Regions from separate parts of the Homo sapiens genome. Here regions 2, 3, 4, 5 and 6 are each linked to region 1. The links are contacts of gene promoters, found by promoter capture Hi-C in blood cells and fetal thymus (Javierre and others, 2016). All regions are on one chromosome and are shown on one strand. Each heading gives the region's core, a stretch centred on a gene start or on the middle of the fragment in contact. The rest is flanking DNA. Distances are from core to core; before and after follow the strand shown. Region 1 holds the start of LAP3 (leucine aminopeptidase 3). Region 2 has its middle 7.3 kb from the start of FAM200B. Region 3 overlaps TAPT1 (transmembrane anterior posterior transformation 1). Region 4 overlaps TAPT1 (transmembrane anterior posterior transformation 1). Region 5 overlaps TAPT1-AS1 (TAPT1 antisense RNA 1). Region 6 overlaps LOC105374510 (a long non-coding RNA gene).

The links. Contacts are between HindIII fragments. The CHiCAGO score rates a contact against its expected background, and 5 or more counts as called.
Region 2: a contact is called between a fragment that was not itself captured here and the fragment with the promoter of LAP3 in region 1, in 1 of 17 cell types (total CD4 T cells). The highest score is 5.7, in total CD4 T cells.
Region 3: a contact is called between a fragment that was not itself captured here and the fragment with the promoter of LAP3 in region 1, in 1 of 17 cell types (total CD4 T cells). The highest score is 5.2, in total CD4 T cells.
Region 4: a fragment that was not itself captured here is called in contact with the fragment with the promoter of LAP3 in region 1 in 6 of 17 cell types (non-activated CD4 T cells, naive CD8 T cells, M0 macrophages and 3 more); the score reaches 6.3 in non-activated CD4 T cells.
Region 5: a fragment that was not itself captured here is called in contact with the fragment with the promoter of LAP3 in region 1 in 2 of 17 cell types (total CD4 T cells and total CD8 T cells); the score reaches 6.4 in total CD4 T cells.
Region 6: a contact is called between a fragment that was not itself captured here and the fragment with the promoter of LAP3 in region 1, in 1 of 17 cell types (total CD4 T cells). The highest score is 5.6, in total CD4 T cells.

The regions. Positions count from the first base shown.
Region 1 is chr4:17,574,361-17,578,447 of GRCh38, reverse strand. LAP3 (leucine aminopeptidase 3) reads right to left here and starts at 1,250. Exons shown (of 13, transcript NM_015907.3): 1 at 881-1,250. The coding sequence starts at 982. RefSeq lists enhancers at 703-902, 1,243-1,602 and a silencer at 973-1,182. The HindIII fragment of the contact is 2,285 bases long and covers 268-2,552 here.
Region 2 is chr4:15,672,437-15,676,523 of GRCh38, reverse strand. It overlaps a transcript of FBXL5 not described here and a transcript of FAM200B not described here. Among named protein-coding and RNA genes, the nearest start is that of FAM200B, 7.3 kb to the left of the region's middle. The HindIII fragment of the contact is 8,677 bases long and covers 1-4,087 here.
Region 3 is chr4:16,195,687-16,199,773 of GRCh38, reverse strand. The region is part of intron 3 of TAPT1 (transmembrane anterior posterior transformation 1); the gene reads left to right. Among named protein-coding and RNA genes, the nearest start is that of TAPT1, 29 kb to the left of the region's middle. The HindIII fragment of the contact is 1,795 bases long and covers 1,489-3,283 here.
Region 4 is chr4:16,212,432-16,216,518 of GRCh38, reverse strand. TAPT1 (transmembrane anterior posterior transformation 1) reads left to right here. Exons shown (of 14, transcript NM_153365.3): 2 at 2,621-2,751. Among named protein-coding and RNA genes, the nearest start is that of TAPT1, 12 kb to the left of the region's middle. The HindIII fragment of the contact is 1,009 bases long and covers 1,894-2,902 here.
Region 5 is chr4:16,229,235-16,233,321 of GRCh38, reverse strand. All of the region lies in intron 1 of TAPT1-AS1 (TAPT1 antisense RNA 1), which reads right to left. Among named protein-coding and RNA genes, the nearest start is that of TAPT1-AS1, 4.6 kb to the right of the region's middle. The HindIII fragment of the contact is 8,035 bases long and covers 1-4,087 here.
Region 6 is chr4:18,587,563-18,591,649 of GRCh38, reverse strand. All of the region lies in intron 1 of LOC105374510 (a long non-coding RNA gene), which reads right to left. Among named protein-coding and RNA genes, the nearest start is that of LCORL, 570 kb to the right of the region's middle. The HindIII fragment of the contact is 2,571 bases long and covers 867-3,437 here.

The DNA.
Region 1 (4,087 bases), core at 1-2,500:
CACCAAAGAAAACGGCCTTCCTTGGCATTGGTAACTCTGCCAGGTTCTAACTTCCCTAAGATTGTTCACTCCCCGGGAATCAATGGAGCCAACTGAGCAACTGTTATCTGGGTAGGCTGTGGCACAGTACTGGAGATAGCACTGGTCAGGCGACTGGTCCCTCCACCACTGAGATACCTGCAGGAGACTGGAGCTCAAGCTCCCCCTAGAACGTTCTTCTGCAGGGACAGTCATCTCTTTCTGGTGCTTAGGCATGACTCCCAAGCTTGTGCTGGTTCCGAGAGCCATTCCCTTTGCAGATCCTTCACATCTGAAGAGCGACCTTCGTAATTTTTTGGAGTTCACTTTTCTTCTGGAAGATGCTCTTAATTCTGGGAAACGTGGGTCTCTCCCCAAAGCCCTTTTCTCTAGAGAGGCATGCTTTTCCTCTAGAAACCCTTCCAAGCTACTTAACTCCCTGACCTTTCACTTCCGCGGGGGAAGGAGCCCTGTGACTCTGGGACCTCAGAAACCCTTTCACCTTGGCAAACTCGGGCTTCCTCCAAGCTCGGATGGGAGCCCCACCGCCGCGTCTTTCCCCGGGTTACTGCCAGGACCGCGGGTGACGACTGGAGCAAGTGCGCGGCCGAGTGGAGCCGGGTAAAGGGCGGCTACAACCATCACCCCCTAGCCCCGAGCAGGGGAATCGCGCCCTCAATACGACCGCTGGGGTCCTCAGCGGCCTAGGCCGATCCCCGCAAGGAGAGAATTTTTCTTTTAAACTGATTTTTGCAACTTGGCTTGGGCGCCCAGGACACCGCGGCTTCGACCAGCCCCGCAGCCCCAGTAGCCCACGGGCAGGGCCCCAGCGGCGGACCATGAGCGAGCCGCCGCCTCTCACCTTCGTCATGTCTGCGGTGGAGAGACTCCGGCTCCCGAAACGTCTCACGGCCAGACGTCGGACGACTACTCGCCCCGCAGCCGGAAGAGGCAGCAAGAACATCTTGTCGGCTCGGCCCCTCGCACCGCCCTCCAGCGAGCACGTGGAGAGCGGTGGGCGGGCGCGCCTTGGGGCGGGGCTTTCGGGGCGCAGACGGCGTGCGCGCGGACTGGCTCGGGCGCCGGGCGAGCGGACGTGCGTCTAGGGGGCGGGACGGATGGGCAGCACCGGCCGACTGGACCGCTGGGATCAAACCGCGGTTGTGGAGGGGACTCAAGGGTGCGCCCGCATTCGTGTGCGCCCGCATTCGTGTGCGCCCGCATTCGTGTGCGCCCGCGCATGCGGGCGGGGGCGAAAAGGCGGGGCTTCCGGACGCGGTTGACAGTCCCGGGAGCAACGCGAAGTAGAGGGGCGGGACCGATATGGTGACGTCACACGATGGGTGGGGCGGAGGCGGGGCGAGTTCTGCAAGCGGGCGTGGGCGGAGCGCTGGGCAACTCCCGGGAAATAGAAACTGAGTGCCAGAGCTTGTTGTCAAGGTTGCTGAATAGACGACTGCATAGTGAAGACACTCCCACTGAGTTTTCGTTTGTTTGTTTGGTTTTTTTGAGTCGGAGTCTCGCTCTGTCACCCAGGTTGGAGTGCAATGGAGCGATCTCGGCTCACTGCAACCTCCCGCTGCTTAGTTGAAACGATTCTCCTGCCTCGTCCTCCCGAGTAGCTGGGATTAGGGGCGCCCGCCACCACGCCCAGCTAATCTTTGTGTTTTTTTGTTGTTTTTTTGGATTTTTTTTTTGAGGCGGAGTCTCGCTCTTGTAGCCCTGGCTGGAGTGCAGTGGCGCAATCTCGGCTCACTGCAACCTCCGCCTTTCGGGTTCAACAGATTCTCCTGCCTCAGCCTCCCGAGTAGTTGGGACTACAGGCGCCCACCACCACACCTGGCTAATCTTTGTATTTTTAGTAGAGACAGTGTTTGGCCATGTTAGCCAGGCTGGCTTTGAACTCCTGACCTCTGGTGATACACCCGCCTCAGCCTGCCAAAGTGCTGGGATTACTTACAGGCGTGAGCCACCGTGCCCGGCAACTCTTTGTATTTTTAGTAGAGACGAGGTTTCACCATGTTGTCCAGGCTGGTCTCGAAGTCCTGACCTCGTGATCCACTTGCCTCGGCCTCGCTAAGTGCTGGGATTACAGGCGTGAGCCACCGCACCTGGCCTGAGTTATTTTTATTCGTGTCCTTTCATCTGTTCCACAGGTGCAACGGTGTAAATACTGTTTTTGAAAATGATGTAACACTATTAGGTTCGTTGACTCGTGCACATAGCAAGTCAATACGCCCAGACACCAGGGTTGCAGCAGAGAAAGAGGTGTAATCGTGGAGTCGCCAAAGGAGGAGATGGGAGGAAACCTCAAATCCATCTCCCTGAGGAATTTGGGGTCAAGGTTTTTAAGGGTTTTGGAGAGGGCTATAGTGTGGAGATCGTTGATTGAAGAGTGCAGGGTGAAGTCATGGGACAGGGCGTTGAAGAACCTGTATTCTTAAGCTGACCCCATTCCTCTCTGGGGATCTTCAAACTGGTAGCTGGAATTCAAGGTCTGAAAAATATCTTAAGCGATCCTTAAACAGAAAGCTTATGATTCTAATGTCAGAGATCCTGTCTATAGGAACAATGGGAATGCAAATGGTCAGTATGTAGTGCTAGGTGACTTTTAGCAACAAGGAAGTGGGCCAAAGTACAGCCTGATTAATGCTTAATTATAACTATATTTCTGCCTAGAACTTGGCATGAAATTTTTGTCAACACAGTGGGGATGGTTTCAATAGAAAGTTTTCAAGTAGTGCTCAATATTTTTATATATTTTTATTTTCTGTAAAGCGTTTTGTTTTTTTTAATTCCTTATTTTTTACTTTTTTTTTTTTAACGGAGTCTTGCTCTGTCACCCAGGCTGGAGTGCACTGGTGTGATCTCAGCTTATTGCAACCTCCACCCCTGGGTTCCAGCGATTCTCCTGCCTCAGCCTCCCAAGTAGTTGGGATTACAGGCGCCCGCCAACACGCCTGGCTAATTTTTGTATTTTCAGTAGAGATGGAGTTTCACCATGTTGGCCAGGTGGGTCTTGAAGTACTGACCTCAAGTGATCCACCCGCCCTGGCCTCCCAAATTGCTGGGATTACGGGCGTGAACCACCGCGCCCGGCTGGTTTTAAATTTCTCATTGTAAAAAAGTACACAGCTGAATGCAACTCGGAGAATATGGGTAAGCACGAGGAGGGATACAAAAATTGTTCTTAATAATGACACCAGCCAGCTGGGTGCAGTGACTCATGCTTATAATCCCAGGACTTTGGGAGGCCGAGGTGGGAGGATCGACTCAGCCCAGGAGTTCAAGACCACCCTGGGCAAGGTAGTGAGATACCCATCTCTACAAAAAGTTAAAAAATTAGCCAGATGTGTGCCTGTAGTCCCGCTAATGGGGAGACTGAGGTAGGAGGTTTGCTTGAGCCTGGGAGGTTGAGTCTGCAGTGAGCCATAATTGTACTACTACACTCCAGCTTAGGTCACAGAGCAAGACCCCATCTCTTTTTAAAAAAATTACACCACTGTTGATCTGATTGCAATTTTAGCTGAGGTGCAGGGGTGTGGGGAGGCTTACACCAGCTGCAGTGAGCAAAGTCTTCACCTTGAGCTCAGTTGCAGGAAAGAAAGAATGTCTATTTCACTCTCCAAGAGCTAGACACTCCAGAGGAGAGATTTGATCTTCCTCTCTTGAAGGCTGAGTGGGTTGGACTGGTAGGTCCACTCTGGCTTCCACCTTCTCTAGATAGTTAAAATGGAGTTGCATCATAAACTCAATAAACTCACCAAATTTTATCTATATTTGCTCCAAAGACAGCGAAATCTTTACATTCACTTTACAGCTCTTCCCTCCTTCCAACGTGATAGATCAGGCCGCAGTTTCTGAAACTAAAAAATGGAATGCGAAAACCTGTCCCCTCCTTGGTATGTGAGTAGAGGGTCTCTGAGCTTCAGAGGCATCCAAGCCTCAGAGCTGTAGGTTACCCTTGTCTGTATCTGCTCAGCTGAATTTATTACCTGTTTTATTGACTTGCGGGTCCAGCCTGAGACTCTGGTGTATCATTTACTTTTCTCTTTGCTTCAAGGACCAC
Region 2 (4,087 bases), core at 879-3,378, 1.9 Mb after region 1:
CTAAACTATGTCCACATATTTCATTTTATTGATATATCTTTGTCTCTCTTAATATATAACAGAGTCTCCCTTTTTTTTGTTGTTGACATTTATTTGTTGTAGAGATTAGGTCATTTGTCTGATTGAATTTCCCATATTCAGGATTTGGCTGTTTCCATCCTCATACAATCTTTCAACCTATTCTATCATGTTTATTTTCTGTAAACTAATGGTAAAATTTAGATGCTTGATTAGGTTCAGGTTTGACTACTTCTTATGCTTTTTATGCGGTAGTTTATAAACATCCTATTGCATCATATCAGGAGGTGAAAGGCTTCAATAATATTTTTGAAACAGTGTCCTAATATATATGGATTAAGGATTATAGAGCAATAATATATAATTTCCATAAGCTGGGTTGCTCTGTAGTCATATCTCCTCTAACCTCCTTTCTGGTTTTAGATGGAGAAGCTAAGATCCAGAAAGTTAAGTATTTGCCAAAGGTCAGACAGCTAATTTAATAGTAAAAGTAGAGCTCTTTTTCACCTCTCACTCCTTTTAAAATTTTGTCTCATAAATCTTTGATATCTGTGGATCAGAAAGAATTCTGTTTGAGGTAGTCAGAATAGCATTTCTGCGTATTCAACTAGAACAGGAGTTTTGGCTGGGCGCGGTGGCTCATGCCTGTAATCCCAGCACTTTGGGAGGCCGAGGCAGGCGGATCATCTGAGGTCAGGAGTTCGAGACCAGCTTGGTTAACATGGTGAAACCCCATTTCTACTAAAAATACAAAAAATTAATGGGGTGTGGTGTCAGGTGCCAGTAATACCAGCTACTTGGGAGGCTGAGGCAGGAGAATTGCTCGAACCTGGGAGGCAGAGGTTGCAGTGAGCTGAGATGGCGCCATTGCACTGCAACTTGGGCAGCAAGAGCAAAACTCTGCCTCAAAAAAAAAAAAAAAAAAAAAAAAAATAGGAGTTTTGTGACCGAGAAGTTAAGACATAGTGAAGGTTCAACTCCTTGAGTGGTTCTGTTTTTGCACTGCCTGTGTGGTAGCTAAGACTTGAATTTGAAAGTAATAGTTAGAGGGGTTAGATAGGATCTAAGCCTGAAGGCTGGTAAATCCAGGATAGGAACAATGCAAGAAAATCTTTATATACTATAGTAGTAGTTGGTCATTTAGTCCTAAATAATTTTTATTTGTGGTACTTATTCACCTCATTTTTATATACTAGTATTTTGCTTCCCATATTAATTTCTACTTGTCTTATAAATGTTAAGTATAAATTAATCTTAATTTGAAGAAAATGAATTATGGAACAAAATATAGGAAGTGAAAACTAGAGGGAGGTAGCTTTCCTCTATAAATTATGTGACTTAACATAAAAAATCAATGATGTGGAAAAGTCTTCTACAAGCCTGGTTACACATCACAGAAATACCTTACAGTTGCTTCATCTGTTTTGATGCATAAAGTGTTTTGTAGTGGCAGGCCCACTGCTTTTTTTTTCGTGATTCCTAGTGAACTGATGGGAATTTGTGCAAACAATGATTGTAGGTATATGACAAATTAATTTATCATTAAAAACCATAACCGACTGGGTGCGGTGGCTCGTGCCTGTAATCCCAGCACTTTGGGAGGCCGAGGCAGACGGATCACAAGGTCAGGAGATCGAGACCATCCTGGCTAACACGGTGAAACCCCGTCTCTACTAAAAACACAAAAAATTAGCCAGGCATGGTGGCATGCGCCTGTAGTCCCAGCTACTAGGGAGGCTGAGGCAGGAGAATAGTGTGAACGTGGGAGGCGGAGCTTGCAGTGAGCCAAGATCGCGTCACTGCACTCCAGCCTGGGCGACAGAGTGAGACTCTGTCTCAAAAAAAAAAAAACCCAAAAATCCCATAACGTTGATAATCTTCTAAGATGATAGAAATGAGTTGATAAGGAGAAAAGAAGGTTTTATGATTAAAATGAAAGTTTCATGAGTAATAATTTTGTAAGGAAAAAAGTTATGATTACATATAATTTCACTAATATATAAACGTAAAATGGAGAAATAATCCCAAATAAATACAATATAATAAAAATTGGGGGACATTTTATTTAAAGTGATGAGTGTGCTATGTATTCATAAGTTGATTTCAGTTTGGGATCTCAAGTGCAGTTCTCACATACCCAGTACAGTGTTAACTCTGTTTCTTTGTTTTTATGGGTTAAGAATTAAAAGTACCAATAGCGGTACTACATTCATGCCACTTAGCAATGAACAATCCTATTTCCTCCAAAAGAATGATACATCATTATGACATAGGGCTAGAGAATTAAAAAAAAAAAAAAAACACGATGCATTTGATATTTCATAATCATTCTTTAGTATTTCCAGAGAAGTAAGCTACAATATTTCCTATTCTGCAGGCACCAAGCATAACTCAGTTTTTGATTCAGAGTGTTGGAAAACAAATCTATCCAGTTTTTTCCTTGAATGTATCAATTTTTGTTCTGGCATGTAATGGTTAAAAGTTTGATACAGGCCAGAAACAATAAAAAATGGACAAAATATATAAAACAATGTTTTCCAAGATATTGGATATCAGGCAATGAAGGACAGTGAACCTTGATCAATAGGAAACAAAGTGAGTCCTATGATTGCCTCAGTTTATTGCCTTGGGAGAATTTCTAAGCCATAGTACAGGGAGAGGGGAACATATGCAGCCTAGTGGAATCCCTCTGTTGATAGAGCCTGGAGCCTGGTGAAACCAGTGCAGCCAGAGTTTGCTAGAAGGGAGAGAGCTGCATAGAGAGAGAATTCTAGTGATCTGGAATGAATCTCTCCTGATTCTTCAGGTAAGTATTGATCACTGTATGCATGTGAGGAAATGACCTGAGGCCAAGGAAAGGATCATCCAAAAATATTACAGTACAGTCTTGGATCACATAAAGACATTTTGTTCAATGATAGACTTCATAAGATTATAATGGAGCTGGAAAATTCCTACCACCTAGTGATGTCATAGATCTCAATGATGATGTCTTATGTGTCTGTGGTGATGCTGGTCTACTGTCTTGCTGATACATTTATCCTTATTTTATCTTTATTTTTTTTGAGATGAGGTCTCACTCTGTTGCCCAGGGTGGAGTAGAGTAGTGCAATCTTGGCTCACTGCAGCCTCGACCTTCTGGGCTCTGGTGATCCTCCCACCTCAGCCTCCCAAGTAGCTGGGACTACAGGCACGGGTCAACACACCCGGCTAATTTTTTGTATTTTTTGTAGAGACAGGATTTTGCCATGTTGTCCAGGCTGGTTTCAAACTTGTGGGCTCAAGCGATCCAGCTACCTCGGCCTCCCAAAGTGCTTATTACAGGTGTGAGCCATTGCACCTGCCCTATTGTTATTTTAGAGTATACTTTTTCTACCTATGTATATTTTCAAAAGTTAACCGTAAAACAACTTCAGACAGATCCTTCAAAGTATTACAGACGAAGGCATTGTTATCATAGATGACAGCTTTGTGCATGTTATTGCCCTTGAAGACCTTCCAGGGTGACAAAATCTGGAAGTGGAAGACAGTGATACTGTTGATTGTGACCCTGTGTAAGTCTAGGCTAATTTGTGTCTCGTAAAAATAAATTTTTTAAATAAAGTTTATAAAATAAGGATATAAAAAATATTTTTGTACAGCTGTACAACATGTATTTTAAGCTAAATGTTATTACAAGAGAGTCAAAAAGTTAATTTAAAAAAATTTTTAAGTTTATAAAATAAAAATTTACTGTTGAAGAAAAACATTTTAAAAATAAATTTAATGTATTTAAGCCTAAGTGTGCAGTGTTTATAAAGTCTACAGTAGTGTTATAATAATGTCCTAGGCCTTCACTTTCACTCACCACTCACTGACTTACCCAGAACAACTTCTAGTCCTACAAGCTCCATTCATGGTAAGTGCCCTTTACAGGTATACCATTTTATCTTTCATACTGTATTTTTACTATAACTTTTCTATGTTTAGATACAAAAATACCATTGTGTGACAAATTCAGTACAGTAACTGAATGCTGTACAGGTTTGTAGCCTAAAAACTATAGGCAGTGCCATATAGCCTAGGTGTG
Region 3 (4,087 bases), core at 1,137-3,636, 1.4 Mb after region 1:
ACAAAAAATAAAAAATTAGCCAGTTGTGGTGGCACATACATGTAGTCCCAGCTACTTGGGAGGCTGAGGTAGGAGGATTCCTTGAGCCCAGGAATTCGAGGCTGCAGTAAGCTGTGATTGCACCACTGCATTCCATCCTGGTTGACAGAGCAAGACTGTCTCTTTAAAAAAAAAAAATTCTTAAAGTGTTTGTTCTAAAAACTAAAAGATGTTACAGGGAACTGGGAAATCTTAAATCCTCTGCCAGTATTTACTTTTACTAGTGGTTAATGATCCCTACCTCTAACCTTTTTTAGATATTTTAAGATTTTTTGTAGTGCATAAGATGATTGCTTTCTTACATTAGTTTGAAATACTTTGAATCTAAATTAATTTGAGTATCATTTGAAAATAAGATGTTTTCTTTTTTCAAAGTTTTATAGCTAAAATGACACTAGAGGGCAGCCTGTTACACATGACATTTAAGACTCCATTGAGGATTTCCCCTGCAAACACTTCTTACTATTTCTGCTTTGGATTAACTGAAAAATTAATTTCATGCTATCACTAATAAATACTTATATGTATAAAAACATGAAATGCAGTTAAAATTATATAACTGTTTCAGCAATTTTAAATGATAGGAGTTTAAATGAAACTTAAATTTTCATTTAAATTTTAAATGAAACGGAGTTCAGGCAATTATAAATGCTTTGAGGATAGGCCAGGTTACACAGAATATGAAAATCCTGCCTAATGTCTTAGTGCCTTAAGTATGGTTTATCAAAATTGAGTAATTTGTGCTTACAGTAATATAGGCTGCAATTTTTGTTTCTTTGAGCAATTTAGAAAATATCTCTTTGAGCATTATTTTTAAAGTCACGAAACTTGAAATATTTGATAAGGTAAAAGTTACATAAACAAAGCTATTGTTAATATTAAGTCTAAGACCTTTCAAATATTTTGGAATATAAAAATACTTTTTAGGTTTACCAAATGATTATTTAGAAATAGCCAGATTTTGCCTTCTGATAGCTTTTATTCCTGTGTTTTCTACTTCCATTAAAGATTATTCGATTTGTCTTGCCTGTAGTGATGTCATGTTCCATCCTTTTCAGCAAGCAAAAAGTGCTCTTTCCTTCAGTCTGACTTTATTTTTTTCAAAGAAATAAGAAGAAGTGAAATAGACTGGCAAAGAAGTTGATTGCAATTTTTTAAATAATTTTTTTTTTTCACTCTCCTGTATTTCAATCTTCTTTCTGTAAAAACTTACTGTCTTCCTAGTCTCTTTGTTCTTTGAAATTGTTTTCACAAAAGGGAGGAAACAGTCCATTTGTCAAATTAATCACAATGCTGACGTGAAAACAGTAACTCTTTGCAGACTCTAGAACTGTTTGGTTCAGTATCACATCAATAATGTAAATTATTGCCTTCTTTTTATATTTGAGATCAGTGTTCTCACCTCATCTGTTTGCAGATTTACATCTTGTACAGCATTTGTGAGAAGCTTTTTAAAGCACATAGACCCCCGTGTTCTCTGCTTCATAACTTAATATTTGAACCTATTTCTAGTTCTTCTGCAAACTTGCCATGGTTTTTGACTTAAGTAAAATAAAGACCCTGTCCCTTCACTAAGGCTGAGGACAAGGGTGGTTCTACAGTGCCTTAAGTAAACCCAGCCTTCATCATGATGGCTCATCCAGCAGGGTGTTTTGCTGGCTTTGACCCTGTTGTTTAAGTACTGTTCATTATGAGATGTTGGCAGGGTAATTATCTGCAGTCATATTTGTGTGTGGTGTTTGCCAAGGATGCACTCCCTCCCTAAAAGTTAATGTCTGTCCTCAGTGATCTCAAGAATACTTCACTGAAATAGTTTCTGATGAATTAACAACCTTGAAAAATCTTTGCCCACAAATATTTTGTTGTAGACTTAAAAAAAAAATTAGAAAATGCATCTAAATTCTTTAAAAGCAGATTCACTTATGTATATCTTCCCTCTTTCCCAGATAAGAGTAGTGTCATTTTAGAAATCATTTGAGAAACTTCTTGAACGAGGATAATCTTTTTAATGATTCATGACATATAAAACAGAACTAAGTTTTGATTTATTATATGAAGTGTCTATTCCTTGGAAGAATGATAGAATTTTTTGTTTTTCAGAAAAGCAGACTGCTCTATATTATGTTAGAGGTACGAAACATCCTTTTTCCAAATTTGCTTGTAGAATTGAATGAAAAATAGCTAATTATGTACATTTGATTTACCTGGCATTTTTGTCAGCCCTCTATTCTCCTGAAATTTGTGACTTCGTTTTGTGCTTTAGAATTCTCAGTCACGTAAGTTAAAAGTTAAAGAAGATTGTAGAGAAAAATGATATAGCCTGGTACCAAGAATTGAGTTATTGTTGAAAAAACTTTACTGAAACATTTTAGAAAGTGATACATGAGTTGAACAGGCTTAAGTAATAAATGCCGGAGTGTTTTTTGGTTTTTGTTTTTTACTATTAGAGCAACTAAAATATGTGTGAGCAAATGTTCTGTCCCCTGGCCCGGCTTTAGGCATAACTCTCACATGAGGCTTCACAGGCTTTTATTTTTCTTGGTTGAAGAGGCAATAGTATCATTTTCTTTTGAGAGTTTATCCCATGGGAGAGCTCTTGTCTCCCAGAATTATGAATTTCAGATGCTTGAGAGTTTCCTAACCTTTTGAGTTTCCTTCGTATGCCTTACCTCTTTCGAAATAGTTCTGCCCAAGATTAACCTCACCTATATGTTATAATAGATTTTTCTCTTTTTAGACAAAATTAAGCCTTGATTTTGGCCTAAGTGATTGATGCCACCACTGTAGCACAAGTAGGGAGAGCTCTTGGTAACTTTCTCTGGGGAAACAAATATGCCTTTTACTTCCTTTTACCAGGGCTGATCTATGTGGCTTATTTGTTGAGAGCAATATATTTGTTATTAGAAAGTCTTCGTAACACCAGGTTTTATTGTCCCGTTTCCTCACCATGGAGCTCTAAGTAGCGTAGCAACATTACAATCTTCTCTCTTTCTTTCTCTCTCGTAAATCAGACCGAAGGGAGGAGCACTTTCACTTCCTTTATAGAATGGAATGTGGTGGCACAGGGACTCCTTGTGGTGAGTAAACCCTGATTTTTCCTTCTATACTCTTGGCCAAATTGACATTCATTAAATGCAAAAGTAAACAGGATAGGCAGACATAGCCATTAGGGGGTAGAAACATACTGAAGAAAATGTGGATCCCTGTCCTTTTTAAAATAGCATCTTTACTTGGTCTTAAAGCTTTGTCCACATTTCTTTGTGAAGGATTTGACTGTGATTTCACCTAACATGAAAATCCGCTCAAAAGTCATCTTTACACATGTTAGCTTAGACTTAGCAAATACTTCATCCCCAAAGCCACAGAAATTGGCTGAGCTTAATTCCTTCCATATAAGCAGTTTTTATTTTGCATTACTAAAATTGTGAACATAGCTTTATAAATAAGTTATTTTTTTCAGTATAGTTTGAAATTAAAGTTTAAGAAATGGTTTGAATCATTCCGTTTAAGTATTTATTTTTCTGTTACATATGAGTCAAACTGAAGATTTAAGATACTTAATTTTCTAATTCAGGAAAACATCTTGATTTCACTACTTTATTCCAGTTTACTTAAATTATAAAAGGATTTCACTTTCAAAAATAAAAACATATTATTTTGCATTTTTATTTCAGTAGTGCTTGTGTTTCTTCACTCTTCCAATTATACCACAAATGGCTGAAAATATTGAGAGAGAGCGAGAGATCTAGTCTATGTATTTTGTAATGAAATAACTCATGCTAATACTCTGGCATGTTTCAACACTGATTTGAAATAACTATGCAGGGATTCTCCCATTTTTCTCGCTCATTTTTGGTGCCACATCTTCCTTCTTGATCTTTCTGTCCACTACTAGATGTTACTTTAATCATAGTTAGCATATTATCTTCCCCTAAAGAGGAAAAGGAAACAGCTTACCCTTGATCGTCTTTCTCTACTGTATAATTCAGTTTCTGTAAGTCTATGAGCCCTTTGAAACAACTAGAGATGCTCTAACTGGTAAATTGTA
Region 4 (4,087 bases), core at 1,149-3,648, 1.4 Mb after region 1:
TAGGTAATTTCCGTGTCTATGGGATGTCCAGGTAGAGGAGGCTGTTGGAAATATGACTCAATAGCCAGAGCTGAAGATGTGATTTTAGGATTTTGATGATGGTTTTAATTTTAGTTAGGAATCTATAGGAAACAAAGCATGTGTAGGAAACAGAGTAGGTATAGGGAATAAATACAAGAAAGAATGATGAGGACATATTGGAGAATACCATCATTAAAGGATGGCTGACATGTTACTGTAGTGAATAGAGCACTGAACCAGCAAACACTTAAGGATCGGGTACAGGAGGAAGGGCTACCAAAGAGACTCAGATGAGAAAAATCAGCCATTCAAGACAGAAGAGCACCACTGAATCAGGTTTAGGTGACATGGAGGGACAGGGAAGCTGCTGTCCGGAGAGTGTGGTGAAGTGGCCTCTGGGGTTCAAAATTCAGAGTTCACTAAGGTCAGTGAAAAATTATATATGTGGAATCTCCTCTGCTTTCTGAAAGTCCTGTTGCTTCTCGATTTTTACATGAAAGAACTGATACTTGTAGATACTAACTAATCAAAACATACTTTTTTTCCTGATTGGAAAACTGACTGAACTGAGTATGATTTGTTTATCTTTCATTAGTCTTGGCTGTTTTTGTTTGCAACTCAAAAGGTTTTCTTTTTCTCACCTTGAAAGAGCAGATCTTGTTCTGGTTCTAGCCAGCGTAGAACATATTAGAAAGTTCCTAACCAGAAGTTCTACTCTATGTGGATTTGGTTAGACTAAGTCCTTTAAATCCAAACATCTGTTAATTTATACAATAGAGTTTACATATTGCGTGCACTTAACCCATGTGACTTCAACTGTAAATGTATTGAAAAGAGAAAGTACGACACATGTAGATAGATTCCGCCTCCTGTTGCGTGAGGCTGGCAAAGGTGGAAAGAAGTCTGCTTTCTTCTTCTGTTTCAACTCCAGGTATCTCTCATGGTAACACTGACTCCCCAGACAGATTATGAATCTGGTATTTAAAGAAGTGTGTATGTGTATGTGTGTACATACACATATATATGGAATAAACCCTAACATAAGCAAGCCACTTGACATAATACTCAAAGAACCAGGAATCCGTTTTAATGCTGGAGGAAGTAAGCTGTTGTAGACCTATTGTTTAAAACCATAGTCAAGTTGGCTTCTAAGTCTTTCCAAGGGCTTTTAAGGAGATATATATATATATTTTGTTGTTGTTGTTTTGAGACACAGTCCTGCTGTGTCACCTACGCTGGAGTGCAGTGGCGTGATCTCGGCTTACTGCAACCTCTGCCTCCTGGGTTCAAGCGATTCTCTTGCCTCAGCCTCCCAAGCAGCTGGGACTACAGGCGCCCACCGGCACGCCCGGCTAATTTTTTTTTGTACTTTTAGTAGATAGGTTTCACTATGTTGGCCAGGCTGGTCTTGAACTCCTGACCTCGTGATCTGCCCACCTCGGCCTCCCAAAGTGTTGGGATTACAGGCGTGAGCCACCGTGCCTGGCCAAGGATATTTTTTACTATAAACGCTTCCCCCCTCACATGTAGGCTTTAGATCATAGTACTCCTAGAAGGTGCAACTCCTTAAGTAGATCTGCATAAATGAAATCAACCTTCCTCCCTTGTCATTTTTTGGAGGGAACATTAAGACCACATTTGGTAGAAAGGACCACAAGGCCAGCTCAGAGCAAAGAGAACAGTGGACAGTTGGAAACCTTTTGGTAACCTGCGTTCTGGAAGAGAGTTTACCTCCTGCAGAGTAAAAGTAGGAAGCTGTAGATGAAGTAAGGGGTGCTGAGGGTCATTGAGGGGATGGGCTATCAGGGAAGTGTAATGCACTGGGAAGAGGTGGGGTCGAGCATCCAGAGCCTTCGCTTCTCACCTCAAGCTTCCAGTTGTAGTGAGTGGAAAGTATATAAATAACTTCCTTTGACCTTGTTTTTCTCACCTGAGATGAGATAACTATGGAGTAATTTGCTTTAGAGGAACAGAGGAAAAACACGGGTGAATGGAAAGATCCAAGGAAAGGGAGGTTTTTCTGATCCGGTTGAGGTTGCACTTCGCGTAATAACTATTGTGAGTATCATGTTGGTAAGTCTTCATGTAGGGAAATGGCATTATTTAGATGTTTGTGCAGGATCTCTGAGGCTAAACTAAGAAGGGAGCTGGGGCACCAGTATCCATGTAGTTCATCCAGGATGGTTCTTGGACTAAAGTGGTGCCCGTTGTGTGACTTTGCTCCCTTTTGACTCTATATATTGCTCTATTTTATATATTCTTGACACCTACTGATTTTCCTTCCATGTCTGTCAGTCCAGGTACTGTATCACCTGTAAGAACCAAGACTGAGCTCTTGAAAAATACTTTTCTGACTATTCTAGCCCTTAATAATTATTCCTTTCCATATTCCTGTGGCATTTTCAGGTTATACCACAAAGAAGAATACTTTTCTCAAAAATACTTGCTGATCATTGTGTGCAGTTCTAGGCATAGAATTATAGATAACATTTATTTTGGTCTCTTTGTTTTATATGTATATTACCTGTGGCCCCAGCTAGCGTGGAAGTTCCTTGATAAATACTGTTCTTTTTGTTTTCTGTCATTTTCTTTTCTGTAGAGCTTTCATTGTTGAGGTTCCTCAGTGCTGAACTAACAAGAGGGTACTTCCTTGAACATAATGAGGCCAAGTATACAGAAAGAAGAGAAAGAGTATACACTTGTTTGCGAATACCAAGAGAATTGGAAAAGGTACTATTTTTTCTTCATTACCAGACATCATTTTGAAAGTTATGTCAAAGTATTAATTATGCAAAAAAATGGTCAACAGCTAGAGTTGAGTTTTTTAAATAATTGAAATAATGTTATTGGGGGAGTAGAAATTTCCTTACAGGAAGAAGCTTTAAAGTTACATTTTTTAGTGTAAGACCCAGTGATAGGATATTAATAGATCTATCAAAATCTGAACTTTTCTGCCTATCATTATCATTGTGTGCTACATCAAAATAACTTTTGTAAGGAATTAATCTCTACTTCTGTACCCTTTTAGTTCCCTTCAGTTCTCTTTTACTAGAAACAGGTTTTTTTTCCCCCATTCAGCATGATAAATTATTTAATTTCAGCCTTTTTAAAGGTTTCAGTTTCTCAGAAAGCCCACATGTTTATAAACATACAGGACAGTCTCTTCAAAGAAAAAGATGGTTTGTTTAATCTTTATCACAGGAAGCATCACATTACAGGGTGAGTGTAGTAACAGCAGCACTACATCTTCACGTGTCTTATTCCTTGGCTGTGCCTTATCCTATCAAGACCAATAAAATAGGCTGGGAAAGCAGCCCCTTCTCCCCTAGGCGATGCTAGAGTTGGTGAGTCTAAGCAATTCCAAAATTTCTTGCTAAAAGAAAAGAAGAAATAATTCAGCTTCAGCTATATTGAAACATGTTTTCATACTTCTGTAGTAACGTAAATCTTGTAATAGTCCAGTCGTCTTCTTAGAATCATACTTTCTGTTGGAGTGGCTATCAGAAGAGTTTGGTTGGCTGGATTTATTGGTACATTGTAGTAACAAGAGGTACTGCAGGCAATGAGGAGTAAGGACCCAGCTGGTTTGGCTGATGTTCTATTTCTGATAGTCTATCAGTTTAATAGAAGAAAAAGAGCGAAATGTAGAGTGACAGTTTCAGAAATGTTGCTTTATGTAGGTTCTTGGTGAAGCGTCACTTGCTGAAGTTTTAGGGAGTTCTGTATTAGGGTGGGATTTAGAGAGCTGGTGAGCAAGCAAAGATTAGAGAACAAATATGGCAGTGGTTTGATTGCCTTTGGCAAGGATCATTAAATATGCTCAACTATTACTGTATTCCTGCATTTCTAGAGGACTAGAGTTCCCTGGGGGGGCCTGAGGGACTTACAGATAAGGAGGGAGGAGGAGTGGGCAGGGCTCTCCACAGCACTCCTCTCCAGCGCAGCAACAGCTCTGTCTTATACATTGAGATTTATCGAAGATTTTGTTTGGGGAAAGGAGTAGGGTAGGCGGATGTTTCTTTTACTTGGAAAAAAATAAAAGATTAAACCAGTTCTTGTGTCTTAA
Region 5 (4,087 bases), core at 467-2,966, 1.3 Mb after region 1:
ATTAATTTAATTTCATGTAATTTGATTTTATTTTTACTGTGTAAAACTGTGTGTTTATCCAGCTAGTAAAAATAAAATCAAATTACATGAAACTAAGTACTGTTCAGAAAAAGAATATCTAGCCAAACATGTCAGATAATAAATATCAGAACTATAATAAATATTAAAATTGAGTATTTAAAAATGGGTTGCAGCACTAGAAATGAATTATTTATATTAAGACAATTGTGTTATTACACTGCTAAGTAGATGGATGAAAGGTCAGAGTGTAATTTAAAAGATGATAATGACCAGCATGTGATTTAGTCTCAGTTTTCTTAGCAATTGAATATTTATGTGTAAATTATACACGCCAAATTTGTAACCCCAGTGTATATCTGTCAAGAGTGGGCATATGCTTAGGAGAACATGAATTAACGTTAGTACCAGCTTAGGCAATGTATAATTAGGAGGATAAAATTGTCACAAGAAAATAATGCTTGCTAAAGCCACAACATGTTTTCTTTTTATTGCTATTTCAAAAAATTAACCACATTCTTCTATTCTCCTCCATGAAACTGTATACCTAAGTTATAGTATTTATTAAGCATCCACATGGAAGACAAGCAGGTAACAGTGGTTCATTATTAGAAATTGATACTAAATTGGAAAATGTCAGAAACAAGAGAAGCATTTTACATATAAACATAGGCTTAGAACTGAAAAGAAAACGGAATAGAATAGATGCATATAAAAGAGCAATTTGAAAATCTAAGGCCTTGAAATCAGATAAACTAATTTCTAAAACCTGGAAAGCAGAAACCCTGAGATTTTTGAGAATCTGAAAATTTATCGTGCATTTCCAATAAATTTTGGTATGAACGCAAAAGAGAGAGATAAATACTTGGGTTTGCCTAAAAGATAACAAACAATAGATCCTTGTAAGAGACTGCTTTCGCTTTTTAATATCTCAGAAACAAGAGGAGAAAGAAAAGGAAAAACTGTCAGAATGGAAACACTGATTAATGAACAGGATGAAAGCTAATTACAAGAGCAGGATCACAGCCCAAAAGAGCTTAAAGGGCATCGATGTCAAGAGAAAAATTACTCAGTTACCTTAATCCATCATAGTTCAACTAGAAACACTAGAAAAAAGCAAAAAATTATCCTGAATATCATGTAAAATCTTCTGATTACCAACTACTATTTGATGAGTGGCCAAACGAAGCAATAAATAACTTGCCACTGGGGAATAACAAAAAGAAAAAAAAAAAAAAACTCTGAAAGGCAAAATTCAAAAGGACTAGCAACAGGAACTGGGTGATAAATAAAATCTCCCCTGCTTCCTGAATTCCAAAATGAAAGCCTTTGCTAGCTAGAATTATAAAAAAGGATTTTTGACAGTTATCAACACATTTACTAGAAGGTCTGAATTTATTCTGCAAAAGGATTCTTGTTAATTAACCGACTAAATGATTAATACGGTTTGAAACAACCTCTATTTATTTTCATCGTGATAATGAGAAACACTTCTTTTTTCTTAGAGATAAATCTGGAATGGAAAGTCTGCTGAGTCATTACCAGGGCCCCTTTCATCAGTATTTTGAAATTTTCCAGAAATTTAAAGTACAGCACAAAATAAATTTTATATCTGATCATGAATAAAAGGCCCTATAAGCCAATAAGCCATGAAATTATATAGGTTCATACACTTTTATTACATAAACAGAACCTACCTTTAGGTCTTCAGAACATAATATCCTTCATAAAACACCCCTTTTAGCAAAGTATTGTTTTCAAAAAGTCCTATTTACAATGGTTTCTGTCATATATTTGCACGTCAAAGAAATGCTTTTAAAAATGATGTTGCTCATGACAGTTTTAGTTAAGGTGTAACAGTTACATTGGAATCAAAGGCACATTACTTAATTTGTGTTACATCTTCCAGAAATAAAGCGAACTGGTGTCCTTTACAAATCCATGGAATAAAGCCCAAAGAGAATAAAACGTAATGAGCGTCAGTCCAAAAATGATTGCCAAAGATAGAAAATATTACTACTGAAACTCAGAAATTCAAACTCACATTAATTTAGTGCAAAGGCTTGATCTGGGTTCAGTGGTATATTTTATTTCTTTAGAACATCAGCTGCAAAGCTGTTTAGATCTTTCAACAACATCAACTCTTCTTTTTGACGACAAAATGGTGAATGAGTTAAATTCAGAACTACAGTTTGTGAAGAAACATGACATTTATGATTCATGAAATAGAAGTCATGTAATGCTAAAATAAAGTTTCAACTGAGAAATACAGATTTAATTAAAACTGTGCTCTATTCCGTGCTTGAATCCACACTATGAAAATCAACTGTACATTGATTACTGAGTAATCATCTCAAATATAACTTCAGGTGCTGTTTAATGTCACCTTACAGCAGAGTTCTTAGACTCAGGTGTGCATGGGTACAATACTGGAAATTTGTTCAAAATGTAGAAACCCTGAGGCCTGGTGTGAGAAACACAGCCTTAGAGTTCTGGAAGGTCACTGAGAAACCATCACTTCTCCTCATGCCAAGGAATGAAGGACTAATGCATAGAACATAAAGGTACATAAAAACTTACATGTCTTTGTTGTGTTATCAACACAAGTATTGCATTTGAACTCTATGCATTCAAATCTTAGACTCAATTACAAAGTGACTCTAAGCATTTCATATTTTTCTACAAATGTTGATAATGCAGGCCTGTCTACTATTTTTAACTCAGAAGGGAGGTGCATGGAGTTTAGCCCAGAATTTTGGAGCTACAAGGGAGGATCGGTCATTGAGTCCAATACTCTACAGGTCAGAAAATGAAGCAGAAAGGGGTCACCTGTGCTCCTTTGGTCAAAGACTTTAGTTGAAGGGTCAGAGAGAATCCAGGCCATCTCCTGACTCGGGATTCTTTCAAGTTAGCAAATATGTGATGTTTTTATTACTCAGGAAAAGTGTACAGAACTACTTTCAAAAGTACTTTAGGGACAATACACTAGAAGTGTTATCAAGAGATAAATTGCTTTGTAGTTAAAAAGTGAAAACTACAGCCTAAATGAAAGGAAGGGAGAATAAAAGGAAAATCGTTATTTTTTTCAGCTTTCATTATACAAAAGATGTTGCCCCAATTTACCAATGAAAAGACACTGAGGGCCACAGTGGCCCTCTGAGACCCTCTTTCCAGGGTCACATAGCTGAAATATGTGGCCAAAACAGTATCTTTCCCAAGGCTTGTAACTGTAGGCCCTTGTACTACACTGTGCTATACCTGGTAGAAAAGAATATAGATATACAAACTAAAAAACATCACTTATTTTAAAACTTGTTATTTCATGAAATGGCAGACCATAATGATTTGGTGTGGACATTAAACAAAAAGAGTTTATATGCCTCATTAAGATAATTTTCTGGAGCTCTGAATCCATGGTTTATACATAATGGGTTCAGTATATTTTGTTTAGCCACAAAATCACTATTGTTAAATCTTTAATTACTGAAATATGAAGTTACGCAATTTATTTTTGAAGTCTGCGTATGCTACTCACCAAATTTTTGTTGTTTAAAAAATATTGTTTTGCAATTTTCAAAATACATTAGCCTCATAGTGCATATAGCAATCTTAAGACTTTATCAACCTCTGATTTCTAAACACACATCCAATATTCATCACTTTCCTCTGCTGAAATTATTTCCCACTGGTGGAGTACTTTTTTTCTTTCTAGTGCGATGACATGCTACGGCACACCATCTTATTGTTTGTGAAATCAATACTTAAGTTGATTCAGGAAAAGTGTATGAAACGAATTTCAAACATCTTTTAGGGGCAATTCACTACAATTGCCCCTAAAACCAGTTATAAGATAAAACCAGGATTTGGATAACAATGATGGACAATATTGTCATTGTCATCCAAATCTTGGTTTTATCTTATAACTTAATTCAGAATGTTATTTGATGCCTATTTAATGGCTAGGGTTGCTATGTTTCTTAAATACTCATATTGTTTTTCTAACGGTAATACCATAAATCTAAGCCTGTATTTTTCTTTTTACAACTGATATAAAGTGCATTATGATATT
Region 6 (4,087 bases), core at 903-3,402, 1.0 Mb before region 1:
TCCAGCATACATTCAGCTTACAATAGACAATTTGTCAGTGAGATGTCATCAATAGAGTAGACAGCATGAAGGTCTGATAACAGCAAGATGGTTGTGATCTCTACAAGCAATATTACAACAGAGTGCGGGAGAATTAACACAGCCCTAAGACATGGGAGTGTATGGTTACTGCTTTTCTGCTTTACAAAGGTGAAATGATTTGGATCCTCCTCCACTTATGTGGTGAAAAATAATGCATTTTCCAACTTAAAATATGCATTCCAAGCACCAGAAACTGTTTAGTCCTGCTGCAGTAACACACCACACCAAGCCCAGCAGCTGCTACTAGAGCAGTACCTTGTTAGCTTATGGTATCCACTGTCACCCTCTACAAACCCTCTGGTGTTGCAGGGTGCATACTGTTCAAAGCAGCAATGATGGAGCCCCTCACCTCTGAATCCTTTAAATCTTTGAGAGTGGCAGTGTTGTGTCTGATTGGCTACCTCAACCAGCATGGCACAGGGCAGTTTCATGAGTTTCGACTCAGTCTTTTGTACCACAGTGGTCTTTATACCACAGTTCAGAGAACCAATGTGAACTTTCTACTGGAAGCTAAGGATTTCTAACTCACTTGCATCCTGAATAATAACTGTAAGAAAGACTTAGGATCAAATTCCATTTATTGCCCTGTCTCCACTGGCTCCAACTCCAAATGGAAGACTCCTAGCATATCAGTACCACAGCTGGTAGGCTTGCAAAGTCTTACAGAGCAAAGTCATTTGAACTTCTTCACCTACCCAGGCGTTCTGACCCATTCCACAATGCGCTTCCAAGGAGGTTTTGGCATCTCCACCGCATTCATTCTGGTCCATCTTTATATTGAAGCTTCAGGTGCCAGTTCAGAAAACTCCAGGTATATTTTCCAGAACTTGAATCTAGCATCATGGATGAGTGCCTCAACATCAAGTATCTCCCCCATTGGCCAGGTGCGGTGGCTCATGCCTGTAATCCAAGCACTTTGGGAGGCCAAGGCGGGTGGATCACCTGAGCTTGGGAGTGCAAGACCAGCCTGACCAAGATGGAGAAACCCCGTCTCTACTAAAAATACAAAATTAGCTGGGCGTGGTGGCGCATGCCTGTAATCCCAGCTACTCGGGAGGCTGAGGCAGGAGAATTGCTTGAACCCAGGAGGTGGAGGTTGCAGTGAGCTATGATCATACCATTGCACTCCAGCCTGGGCAACGAGAGTGAAACCTCGTCTCAAAAACAAAAACAAAAACAAAAAAACAAAACATAAAAACCTTCCCCATTTAACAGTGTAGTGTACTTTGCCTGGTCCCCCACAGCCTCACATTTCACTCCCACAGTGATCCCCCAGTCCTCACCAGTGCCTATTAGTCAAGTTCTGCAATCCTTTGAGATGTAAGCCCTTTTATCCTGGAGCTGAGATAGTACTTCTCCATTCAGATATTGCTAAGTCCTGACCCTAGATATTGGCCTGGAGGGACTGAGGGGTGGCGGAGGCAGATCTTGAGAACAGAATAGCATTATGAGGCCCTGTCTCAGTGTAGATCCTCACATGGTCACCACGTAAGAGGCTGCTATCCTCCAGCAAGAGGAAGGTGACTGGGTCTTCTGGTAGTGGAAATTCAAGGGAATTTGCAGATTTAAGATTCTCAGGCTCCTGACTTTTTAATGATCACCATTCTAACTGGTGTGAGATGGTATCTCATTGTGGTTTTGATTTGCATTTCTCTGATGGCCAGTGATGATGAGCATTTTTTCATGTGTTTTTTGGCTGCATAAATGTTTTCTTTTGAGAATTGTCTGTTCAGAGGATGTGGAGAAATAGGAACACTTTTACACTGTTGGTGGGACTGTAAACTAGTTCAACCATTGTGGAAGTCAGTGTGGCGATTCCTCAGGGATCTAGAACTAGAAATACCATTTGACCCAGTCATCCCATTACTGGGTATATACCCAAAGGATTATAAATCATGCTGCTATAAAGACACATGCACACTTATGTTTATAGCAGCACTATTCACAATAGCAAAGACTTGGAACCAACCTAAATGTCCAACAATGATAGACTGGATTAAGAAAATGTGGCACATATACACCATGGAATACCATGCAGCCTTAAAAAATGATAAGTTCATGTCCTTTCTAGGGACATGGATGAAGCTGGAAATCATCATTCCCAGCAAACTATCGCAAGGACAAAAAACCAAACACCACATGTTCTCACTCGTAGGTGGGAATTGAACAATGAGAACACATGGACACAGGAAGGGGAACATCACACACCAGCGACTGTTGTGGGGTGGGGGGATGGGGGAGGGATAGCATTAGGAGATATACCTAATGCTAAATGACAAGATAATGGGTGCAGCCAACCAACATGGCACATGTATACATATGTAACAAACCTGAACGTTGTGCACATGTACCCTAAAACTTAAAGTATAATAATAATAAAATAAAATTTAAAAAAAAAAGATTCTCAGGCTCATCCACCCAAATATACCCTAGCCATTTCTCAGGCTCCCACTCTTTTTCTGTAAGGTCCTAAGTAGTGTGGCTGTGCATTCAGTCTCCTCTGTGGTTCTGCCACTCAGATTTTCTACATAATCTGCACCTTAACCATAAAAGGAATCATTGCTCTCCAAAGCAGCCATAAAGCCCCTCTGACCTTCATGGCATGCTTTGAGTTCACAGTTTACTGCTCTGATGCTATCATTTTCTTTTCCTAAGTATTACAATGCAGTTAACCCACTCCAATATCCTCCCAATTATCATTTTCCCCACACTATTTATTCAGCAGAGCCTTTGCACAAAATAACGCCCCACCTACTTCTTTCACATTATCGCAATTAATCAGAGGTAAAAACACCATTCATTATAATGCCTCTACATGCCAGGGGTTATTATCCCATTGTTTACAACCACCACGGGTCCCATATTGCATACAGACCATAAGCAGTTCATCCCCAAAACAGATCCTTGGGATCTGCTTTCTAGGGATTTTCCTGGACTCAACTTCCATAGCCTAGATTTCCACAGTATTGGAGGCAGAAGACTTCTGTGCGATTATTTACAGGAAATATATATGGGGACAGAGGATAAGATGGTAAAAGAAGAGATATTTAAGCAGATAATTAAAGATAACAATAAATTCTAGTGTGTGTGTGTGTGTGTGTGTGTGTGTTTATGTATATATGAACAGTACCTACTCTACAACCCATCTGAGAAGGTGGTTAATAATACTTGAAGAATGATGGATGTTTTCATGGAGAACTGAAAATAATACATGCAGTTACATAAAATAATAACATTCATTCTGCTTTCACTGTGTCTCAGGATCTATGCAAAGCCCTTATCTTTCATGATTTTAATAATCCCGTGATATAGGTAGTGCTGGCTCCATTTTAGAGATGAAAACACTAACAAAAGCTTAGAGAATTCCCACAGATGTTAAGTGGCAGAGCCAGGGTCACTGCTTCTAAGTATTATGCTATGCTTTTTCCTGAAGGACTTGACATTGGCCCATTTTTAAGAGATGAGGGGCTTTCTTGTCAATGACAGAAGGAGAACATATACCCTAGACAAAGAAGATAGGAAATGCAAAGGCAAGGAGAAGTGAAAGGACTATCATGCTTTAGATCGCAAGAAATTCAGCGTGAACTCAGATTCATCCAGAAGATAAACAGGATAGGAAAGGATGAGTTGGGAAAGAAAGGGTGAGAGTGTTTAGACTGTGAAATAAGTTGGTGGATTTTACAACAGTCCCATCAGGAGGTCATGAAACTCTAAAAGTGGATTATGACCCTGGAGATGAGCAAAGGGACATGAGAGCTTGTGTTCCTTCATTGCTGTTAAATTTAATTCCCTCTTCCCTGGCCCTGAGTGCCAGATACCCCACTTAGCTCCATATGGCTCTGGAAAAATCACTCAACCTCCCCACCCTCAGTTTCTCTAGATATAACATAAGAAAAAATAATAGCTGTTACCTATGGGCCTTGTTGGATTGTTATAAAGGTTACATGAGATCATGCAAGTACAGTACCCAACACCCACATCGAATTTATGTGAATTCAACTGTAAG